Regions from separate parts of the Homo sapiens genome. Here regions 1 and 2 are each linked to region 3. The links are contacts of gene promoters, found by promoter capture Hi-C in blood cells and fetal thymus (Javierre and others, 2016). All regions are on one chromosome and are shown on one strand. The core of a region is centred on a gene start or on the middle of the fragment in contact, and the rest is flanking DNA. Distances in the headings are between cores, read along the strand shown. Region 1 overlaps RASAL2 (RAS protein activator like 2). Region 2 overlaps RASAL2 (RAS protein activator like 2). Region 3 holds the start of AXDND1 (axonemal dynein light chain domain containing 1).

The links. The method cuts DNA at HindIII sites, captures the fragments that hold promoters and counts their contacts. A CHiCAGO score of 5 or more calls a contact.
Region 1: a contact is called between a fragment that was not itself captured here and the fragment with the promoter of AXDND1 in region 3, in 2 of 17 cell types (naive B cells and total B cells). The highest score is 8.9, in naive B cells.
Region 2: a contact is called between a fragment that was not itself captured here and the fragment with the promoter of AXDND1 in region 3, in 2 of 17 cell types (naive B cells and total B cells). The highest score is 8.8, in naive B cells.

What each region holds. Positions count from the first base shown.
Region 1 is chr1:178,291,662-178,295,275 of GRCh38, reverse strand. All of the region lies in intron 2 of RASAL2 (RAS protein activator like 2), which reads right to left. Among named protein-coding and RNA genes, the nearest start is that of RASAL2, 200 kb to the right of the region's middle. The HindIII fragment of the contact is 865 bases long and covers 1,929-2,793 here.
Region 2 is chr1:178,310,053-178,313,389 of GRCh38, reverse strand. The region is part of intron 3 of RASAL2 (RAS protein activator like 2); the gene reads right to left. Among named protein-coding and RNA genes, the nearest start is that of CLEC20A, 190 kb to the left of the region's middle. RefSeq lists a silencer at 2,382-2,676. The HindIII fragment of the contact is 6,190 bases long and covers 1-3,337 here.
Region 3 is chr1:179,364,356-179,367,549 of GRCh38, reverse strand. AXDND1 (axonemal dynein light chain domain containing 1) reads right to left here and starts at 1,579. Exons shown (of 26, transcript NM_144696.6): 1 at 1,550-1,579; 2 at 944-1,146. The coding sequence starts at 1,040. RefSeq lists enhancers at 1,179-1,248, 1,629-2,028. The HindIII fragment of the contact is 9,843 bases long and covers 1-3,194 here.

The DNA of each region.
Region 1 (3,614 bases), core at 1,112-3,611, 1.1 Mb after region 3:
GTACCCTGGTTTTTTTTTGTTTTTTTTTTTTTGGGAGAAAAAAAATGCCAACGCTTAGACCACTCTAGACATTCTAGACATGCAAAGTTGAGAACCACTGATCTATACTCTGTACCTCCAATTCTAATTATTCACTTATTAGTCCTTGGCTACCAGTACTAAGTGTGAAGATATAAATAAATCATTTGGCTTTAATAAACCTCAATTTCCACAACTTTGAGGTATCTTTCTGGTATCTCAGCTGGATTCCTGGAGTAGTCAGGTTTTAAACAGATTTCTCACTGGCAGTGTCAGATCTCTGTCATTGCTCAACATGACCACTAGTATCTCTATTCTGTTTTCAATATACTTCAGTTTCTCTCTGGAAAACTTACGTAGTCTTTCCCTGGACATGTGCAGTCCAGCTAAAGACTCTCTGGTATCCTACCCAGCAGGTTCCAGCCCTTTCAGATGCAAAATTCTGTTCTGTGCCTCCTCAGCTCAGTGAGTCTATTGTACTCTGGCAGGCCTGGCCTCCAGATTACAGCACCACAGTTGGAAAATAGTATGCAGCAGACACCTGGGCAATGGTGACCAACACAGTGGCTGCCTATTGTCCAATGCCTGAAAATAGTTGTGTTGCACACCCATGCTCTCTTTCGATTGATCGATAGATGGACAGACAGATAGACAGATAGTGAGGGGGTGGTGTCCTATTTTTTGTTGTTTACAGTGGGAGGGCCCATCTTGCACCAGTCATTCTGTCATAGCTGGTGCCAAAAGCCTCTATTTATCTCTTAATTAAACTCCTGCAACAGTTTCTTCACTGGTATCTGCCTGGGACGTTCTGCCCCTTAAACCTATCCTTTACATAGTTATCATAATAGTTCCAAAATGCAAATACGATCATGTCATCCTGAGGTTTAAAGCCCTTCAGCAGTTCTTTGCCTCTAGCAGTGGTTTTCAAAGAAGTGGTGGTGTGTTTGTGTATGGAAGTATGTGGGGGTGGGGGGAAGTATCTCTGCTTCAACCTGAACATCATTCTCAGTGTATCTGTTGTACAGGGCTTCTGCATAAGCCTTTCTACAAAGAAAGTGTCCTTCTGCTTAAAAAGGGTTTAAAAACTACTATCCTATAAATTAGTGCAAGCTCCCTAATATAGTACACCAGATTTTCCACAATCCAGCCACTGTCTCTGTCTGTGTGCTCAGTTTTAGACTTCATTCTAGAAATACCAAATTGCTTGCAATTCTTTAATACATTCCCTATTGTGTAGTTCAGTGCCATGGCTTAGTTTGTTCTCTCTTCCTGAAATGTTTTCCCTCTTTCTTTTCTATTCTACATCTGCAAGGTAAACTCCTAATCATCCTGAGGCTTAGGACAGGCTTTGCATTTCCCAGGAATCTTCCTCCTCTATCAGTCCCCTAAGGGAAGGTCAAGGTACACTTCCATTTAGTTCTCCGGTAACACATCTTTCTCTGTCATTATACTTACTGTGTTAAATTATAATTATTCATTTATGCAACTAATTCCACGTAAGTTAACAGCTTGTACTTTACCAGTAAATCCCCAAACCTTAAAATAGTTCACAAATAAGTGAATGATAGGTAGAGATGGGGGCCATTTTAGGCAAAGGAAAAAGCATAACATCAGCCAGGAAGCTGGTAAGTATATGACTTTTTTGTTTTGTTTTGGAATAGGGAGTAGGCCAATTTGGCTAGAGCCTCTTAATAGGGAGAAAAGGGATGGAACAATATATTATGAACATGTTAGGAGGGCTGGAATACCAGACCACGCATGGGGAGCACTGAGAAGCCACTCAAGCTTTTAGATCTAAGGACTGGCAGTCTCCTAATTGTTCTGTTTCCTGTGTCTTGTTCTTCCAATACGTCCTACAGATTAATATTTATAACACCTAACTTTGATCAAATTGCTTCTTTTATTAAGCTTTCCTTTGGTAATTCCCCATTGCCAGTGGCATCTTAATGACATATTTAGTTAGGCTAAGGTTCTTTTTATAATTAATGGATTTCTCTCTCTTATTCTATCCATTTACTTGTGTTATTTATCAAATGTCACTTTAAAATTGTCTTATTTTTACCACTAAATTTGTTACGGGGGAGAAAGAGGAAAGAAGATCTGTCTTGTGCTTTGTAACTCCTAACACAGTGAATAACATATAAGGGCATATTATATATCTATTGAATAATTTAAAAGTGGTTCTGAATGAAATATGCCATAGGTAGCTCACCCCAGAATAAATACCAGTTAATTTTTAGCTATTTGCACAAAGACTGATATTTTCATCAACATATCTGAGTGTAAACACTTTCAAAAGAAAAATGTTTTAAAACATTTAAAAGTGTCATTTTAAATGCCTTGCTGCCTATACACCAGAATCCAGCCTTAAACATTCTAAATATAGAAAGTAGAGTTTGCATTAAGAAAAATGGAGTCAAATGGACCCTGCCTAATAGACTGTTATTGCCAAAAGAAATAAACTCATAAATTCAGCTTTTGTATTTTTATAATGGCTGTACCTCTGAGGGGTTCATGTTTGTCTTCTCTACCATTTCCCTCAACTCCTTAATCTCAAATTTACTTGGTCTCATCTCTTGCAAGCAAAATGAAAGTCAAATGGCCTCCTGTGCCCTCTTTGAACTGGGCTGGTATCAAGCCAGTTGGGGCCTTTCCTGGTACCCAGGCAAGAAAGTATATTTCATAGCACATAAGCAATATCTATTTGGCACAATTTGCATGAAGCAGTTTACTGAACCAATAAGTCATTTGTCAAGGTGACACTCCCAGCAAGCTTCTCTTTCAGCATTCTGCCCCAATCTACCCTTCTGCCACATTCCCAGATTGGTCATTGGAATATTTAACACTCTTCCCATGTATACTCCTCAAACAGACTTTTCCCCAGTTCTGACAAGAAACATGTAGAGTTAAGAGAAAGCATTAAAAGATGCCACACACTGACTTAATACATGAGTGATACTAGACTAATATAATCCTCCCACATTCCAGCAGTGCCTGGCTAAGGATTCAGTTTAAATCCTTACAGAACCCTTTTAATTAATTTTTTAACACAGCAATAAACACCCCCATGATGATTTAATTAAAGTTTAAAACCATCTTTTTAGATAATTTTAGCAGGAAATTCCTTAAACTCATTTTAAGAAATTCTAAATTATTCAATGCAAAATTCCAAGGATTAAGAGTTAAATTCTTTATAATTCTTTTTTTTTTTTTTTTTTTTTTGAGACAAAGTCTTGCCCAGTCACCCAGGCTGGAGTGCAATGGTGCGATCTCAACTTACTGCAACCTCCACCTCCCGAGTTCAAAGGATTTCTCCTGCCTCAGCCTCCCGAGTAGCTGGGGTTACAGGCACCCGACACCATGTCCAGCTAATTTTTGTATTTTTCGTAGAGACAGGATTTCACCATATTGGTCAGGCTGGTCTCGAACTCCTGACCTCGTGATCCACCTGCCTCGGCCTCCAAAAGTGCTGGGATTCCAGGTGTGAGCCGCCGTGCCCGGCCCACATTCTTTATAATTCTTAAGTGTGGGTGAAAGGTAGAAGGGTGACAGCATATTCTGGTTCCTACACAAGAAATTGATTTATAATCTTTTCA
Region 2 (3,337 bases), core at 554-3,053, 1.1 Mb after region 3:
ACTTTTACCTCTCTTAGCCAATTGTTTTGGTAGTTAACATCAAATATTGAATAATATTGCTTTGTTGATACTTTAAAATTTCTCTATTTTAGACATTATCTATTGACTTTCCACTATGAAAGATGAGAATGTGAATCCTTCCTCCTCCATCACCATCCCAGTAGGTGCATACATACTCCTATTCTCTCACCTTCCCTATATAGTTACATAATAATTTTGGTAAAGGCAAACAATATTATGACTATGTACGTTATTTAGACTCCAGCCACAGAGTAAATCCTATGTAGACTGTAGCATAGTGGTCAGGAGCATAGATCTTGAAGGCATACTTCCAGGGTTCAAAGCCTATCTTTGCCACTTAATGGCTGTCTAGCTATTTAGGCAAGTTACTTCACCTCTCTATGCCTCAGTTTCCTTATCCATAAAATATTCATTGTAACATTATCTACCTCTTGGGTTTACAAGGATTAAAAAATTCATATATGTAAAGTGCCCAATATGATAAAAAGTGCTATAGAAGTGTTCTCTTTGTCCTGAGCTACTTTTTTGTTTCTCTTATAGTGTTCTCTTGTATTATTCATTTGCTTAGATATCTATATGCTTATTGTTAATTCAACCACAAATGCGCTTCCTATTGTTTCCGCTGATTGAGTTAACTTATCAATTTTGTGTTCTTGGAAAGTCTCGCTACAGCCTTATCAGCTGCTCCAGTCTGAACTGGCTGTCTTTATTCTACATCTTGTACCGAGCTATTAAACTTGGTTCTGTCTTTAGCATTCTACTAAAAGTTCCCTTTTTCTCTCCCCTGTGCTAGATCTCCTGTCCTCATTCTTAGTAAAACATATCTTTCATTAGCTTCAGGAAAAATGATGTGTAGGAGGTAATCTTTTTTGAGTCTTGCATGTCTGAAAATGTCTTTATGCTATTCTCAAATTTGACTAATAGTTTACAGCTAAATATACAATTCTGGACTGGAAAAAAATTTCCTTCAGAATTTTGAGGGCATTCCTCATTGTTCTCTAGCTTCTGATATTGCTTATTGTAAGTCCGCAGCCTTTCTGATCCTTTGTATGTACTCCAATTTCCCTTTTTTTGCAGGTTTGTAAGACTGTCTCTTGTCACTAGAGACAATTTAGAATTTCATGAAATGTGACTTGTCATGGGAACTCAGTAAGCCCTTTCAATCTGGAAACACATATCTTTCAGTGGTGGGAAATTTCCTGAAATTATTTTGCTAGGGTTTTGCTCCCTTTCTTTCCCTTTTTCTGGAATTGTTGTTTTGATATTCAACTTCCTAGACTGGTCCTCTCATTATTTTATCTTTTTTTTCTCTCCACTTTCTATTTTCTCAATTCCATTTTCCAACCCTTATATTGAGTTTTATATTCTAATTTTTTAGTAGACAAAAGCTCAACTTTGTAAAACATTCTGTTCTTGTTTCATGTATGTAACATCCTATCTTTCTGAGGATATCAATCATTTTTTTAAAGTTTTCTGTTCCCTGCCTAGTCTCTACCTCCAAGTTGTTTTTTCCCTTTTTTCTTTTTCTTTTCTTCTTCTTCTTTTTTTGTATGTTTTAGTCTCTCTCTTTCAGGCTTTTCTTCAGATGTCCACTAATCTTGGGAAAGTTGGTATTCTTAGATCTTTCTTCTTGGGCTAAATACACCAAGGGGTATTCTACTAATCTCCTGCCTGTAGGGTAAAGGCAAGTGAGAGAAGAAAGGTGGAGGAGTCCCATCATTCAGCGTGCACATATTCACCTAATTCCCTCATATGTGGTAAAATGCCCTGTTCTCAATTTTGCCTAGTATCTCCCAATCCAAAGATACTTGGGCTTTTTTTTTTCCCTCCAAAGAGTATACTTGGAGTCTTATACTAAGGTGGAGGTATAGGTAGGAAGAACAGTTGTTCAGTGGAATGGGGAAGAGGAGGAGACCTGGGGATCTGCTACCACATATGTCTGGCTCAATTCCTGAGCTATTTAAAGATTCTGTGGTAAAGGTCAGCTTCATTTTTAGCCTTCTTCATAGCCAAGTTAAGATTTGGCTTTCTTAAGTAAGCTATGTCATTTGCCACACTCTATTTGCTTTTCAGCTTTCAATGTGTGTGTGTGTGTGTGTGTGTGTGTGTGTGTGTTTGTGTGTGTGTATGGCTGTTTTCTTCTTTCTCGTTCTCCATATCCTTGATGGATCATGTCTTTAAAATAAAACACCTTTAGTAGGTTTGGTGGAGTTTCTGGGAGGAGTATAATTAGATGCTTGTGTTCAATCTGCCATTCATCTCCTCCAGATGTCCAGGCTGAATCTAAAAATCATTCCTACTTCCCACCTGATTCTCCAACCACCACAGTGGTTTCCTAAGAACTTGGCCTTAGGGCTGATTAAGAGGAGCCTCTAGTGTGGGTATCACATTTTGGAGTACTCTACTCTGGTCTTCTTGGGCACCCATTTCCACAGAACTTGACTGTACAAACTGGGAACAGTAACCATGACAATAGCCTATACAAATGACTTCCACAAATTAGAAAGGGAGTCCTTTATTGAAGAAACTCTACTGCCATCTACTGGAAATTTTATGAAACAGCTACAAATCAGCGATAACAAGTGACAGGTAATTGGGTAACAGTTTGAGCAACCATAAGTGGCAGCACTGCCTTGGAGCCACCTTCACAGAAGTAAACAAATCTCCACTGTGCTAAAATATGGAAGATAAAAGAACAAATTAGGAATCCAAACTTCAAATTACAGCAGAATTGTGGTCTCGCACCTCAACTTAGAATTGAGAACTGATGTCCCAATCGAAAAAAAATGTTACTGCTAATCAAAATCTAGCTCATAAGAGTAACAAAAGTAACAAAATCAAACAGTAAAATTGATTTTAGTAGGTTAGCTTGAGAACTTAAGTACTAGTTTTTTTTTATTTTATTCATGTCAGTTTTGAGACCCAATTAACTACTTCCAAAAGAAAATCAGGAAAATGTTCAAATGTAAATGAAGTTTTTGCATTTAATTGGCTAATAATGCAAACTTCTTTCTAATGGGCAAATCTAACTATATCAGATTGGTAGTAAGGTCAGTTCTGTTATAATATTTGCTTTGAAAACTTTAATGTTCTACTGCAATTGATTTATTTTAGGTAACAATTTGCACATAACACAAAATCTGTGTTTCCTTATGCACAACCTTCACTACTCACATATCCTGTCTATCAATGCTATTATCATCCAGTAGTTTTATAGAAGATTCTAGCATCTTGAAAATATTTCACAAATTATCTAGATATTTCTAACAATGTCTTGGGAATAAAAACAGAGTCCTCACTAATTTACAAATTTCAT
Region 3 (3,194 bases), core at 330-2,829:
GGTCAGGCTGGTCTCAAACTCCTGACCTCGTGATTTGAGACGGAGTCTCGTTCTGTCGCCAGGCTGGAGTGCAGTGGCGCAATCTCGGCTCACTGCAACCTCCACCTCCCGGGTTCAAGCGATTCTCCTGCCTCAGCCTCCTGAGTAGCTGGGACTACAGGCACGAGCCACCACGCCCCCCCTAATTTTTGTATTTTTAGTAGACAGAGTTTCTCCATGTTGGCCAGAATGGTCTCAATCTCTTGACCTCGTGATCCGCCAGCCTCAGCCTCCCAAATGGGATTACAGGTGTGAGCCACTGTGCCCGGCCTATTTATTTATTTATTTTGAGATGGGGTCTTGCTCTTGTCTCCCAGACTGGAATGCAATGGCTCGATCCTGGCTCACTGCAACCTCACCTCCTGGGTTCAAGCGATTCTCTTGCCTCAGCCTCCAGAGTAAGCTGGGACTACAGGCGCGAGCCACCATGCCCGGCTAATTTTTGTATTTCTAGTAGAGACGGGATTTCATCATATTTGGCCAGGCTGGTCTCGAACTCCTGACCTCAAGTGATCCGCCCACCTCGGCCTCCCAAAGTGCTGGGATTACAGGCGTGAGCCACCGCGCCCTGCCTCACTATTACTTTTTCCAAAGTTCCTTAAAGCCAAAGACCAGGAACCAAAAAATACGTAACTATTGATATTTAAAATAGGTTGAATTTAAAATCATATATAAATCAACATTTGAAAAAAAGTATAAACTGTATTTAGATGGAGTAGTGAAACAGTACTCTGACTCAAAATACTGTAAAAGGAATGACTTCTTGCTTTATTTAAGCAAGTGTGTTAGAAAAATGTAGCCAATCAAGGTATTCTGAATATCAGATTTAAAAAACCGGTGAATGGAAGGTGATTTCTGTCTTACGGCCATGACTGTTTATGACTTCAGAATCAACGAAGTTTACCTCTTGTCCCTTCCTTGGCTACAGACACTTTTAACTTTTTGCTCTCAGATGTTGATGTAGAGTTTAGCGGGGTGGAGGGCGTTTTCGGGAGAGACATAATAAACAATGCCTCCTATCTCTTTAGTAATTTGAAATAGTCCTCCGGAAAGCTAATTTAGACACAAATCAGCGCCGCACTGGGACTTGCAGGCTGCCACATAGTCCTGCAGGCAGAGGAAAAAAGATTTAAAAAAAAAAAAAAAGATGACAACTATTGAGTACTTAGGTTCAGATCGCAGTTTAGAATTCATCTAGCATGGTTCTCCTTCTTCGGGGCGACCTCTATGTTCTGGGGTTATGTGTAGCGACTAAGAAGCCTTAGTGGACCGTCAGGTCGGGGTCAAGGAGCAGGGCAGGAAGGACCCGCTCGGCGGACCCCGCAGACCGCCGGCACCCCTGGTGGGGGACACTCGCTGCAGGCGGCTCGGCTGGGGACCATACCTTCCCCACAGGCAGCGCTCTCGCGCGCCAGTTCCACAAACTCGCGAGTTGGGCAGGCCTCGCACTGCTTCTTGGTTTAAAATGACGGGAAAGGGACACCCGCGATCCTACCCACACATTGCGTACCCGCCCAGCATCCGCTCACTTCCTCCTTTGCTGGAACGCCTGTTTGTCGTCATAGAAACCCAGGGCCCCGAGGTTTAGCGCCCTCCATAGGGGCTGCCTTCAGCGGTGCCGGCGGAGGAGGGAGACAGCTAAGACAATCCCTACACCCTCTTGGAGTTTCTTATGTTCTAAGTCACAGCATAGGTTCAGTAGCAAAGGAGAAGAAAAACGTTTAATCCCGCCGTTGTCACGGAATCCGAAAGTGTCTCACGCCGGGGCTTCCTGCCGCGGGCCAGGCCAGTGCGCAGGCGCCGGTGGGGGTTAGCTCGAGGGGCCGACCCCTGTAGCCCGTGACGCACGCGGGTTAAGCAAGGGTCTTCTGAGTTGTTTCCATCTTTCTAGCTCTCTTTTTTGTTGCTTTGCATATTTTTCTTTCTCTTTCTTCCTCTTTTTCTTTCTTTCTCTTTTTTTCCCCTGAGACGGAATTTCCCTCTTGTCGCCCAGGCTGGAGTTTAATGGTGCGATCTCGGCTCACTGCAACCTCCACCTCCTGGGTTCAAGCAATTCTCCTGCCTCAGCCTCCCAAGCAGCTGGGACTACAGGCAGACGCCACCATGCCCGGCTAATTTTGTAGTTTGTTTTTTGTTTTGTTTTGTTTGAGACGGAGTCTCGTTCTGTCGCGCTGGCTGGAGTGCAATGGTGCGATCTCAGCTCACTGCCACCTCCGCCTCCCAGGTTCAAGCGATTCTCCTGCCTCAGCCTCCCGAGGGACTACAGGCGGGGGCCACCATGCCCGGCTAATTTTTGTATTTTTAGTAGAGACGGGGTTTCACCATATTGGCCAGGCTGGTCTCAAACTCCTGACCGCGCCCGCCTCGGCCTTCCAAAGTGCTGGGATCATAGGCGTGAGCCACTGCGCCCGGACGCTTTGCATATTTTTCTAAAAGCCAGACTCAGGGGGATGTTGGGTAATAAGAAACGCTGGGTCCCTTATTGGGTAAGCCGTCCAGTGCTTTACATTTCGGTCACGTCTTCCTTGGACCCTTAAATGCCTCCCCCCAGAGCACAAGGAAGGCCTCCTGGGCCCAGATTTTTCACCCCCTTGGGGCAGGGAAGGAGGATTGAGCTTAGGTGGAACCAGCTCAGGTATAATTGTCGGGGCTTCTGGCGTGAAAATCTGCCCTCAGGAAAGAATACCATCAGCGGCCGGTGGCTCACGCCTGTAATCCCAGCACTTTCTTAGGCCGAGGCGGGTGGATCACGAGGTCAGGAGTTCGAGACCAGCCTGACCAACATGGTGAAACCCCGTCTCTACTAAAAACACAAAAATTAGCCAAGAGAGGTGGCGCGCGCCTGTAATCCCAGCTACTCAGGAGGTTGAAGCAGGAGATTCGCTTGAACCGGGGAGGAAAGGGTTGCGGTGAGCCGAGATGGCGCCACCGCACTCCAGCCTGGGCAACAGAACGAGACTCCGTCTCAAAAAAAAAAAGAGTATCATCAGAGCCTTCGCACTGAACTGAGGCTCGGTTCGGTGAGGGATCATTTCTTTTCTTTTCTTTTTTGAGACGGAGTTTCACTCTTGTTGCCCAGGCTGGAGTGCAATGGCTCGATCTCGGCTCACCGCAACCTCCGCCTCCCAGGTTCAAGCGATTCTCCTGCCTCAGCC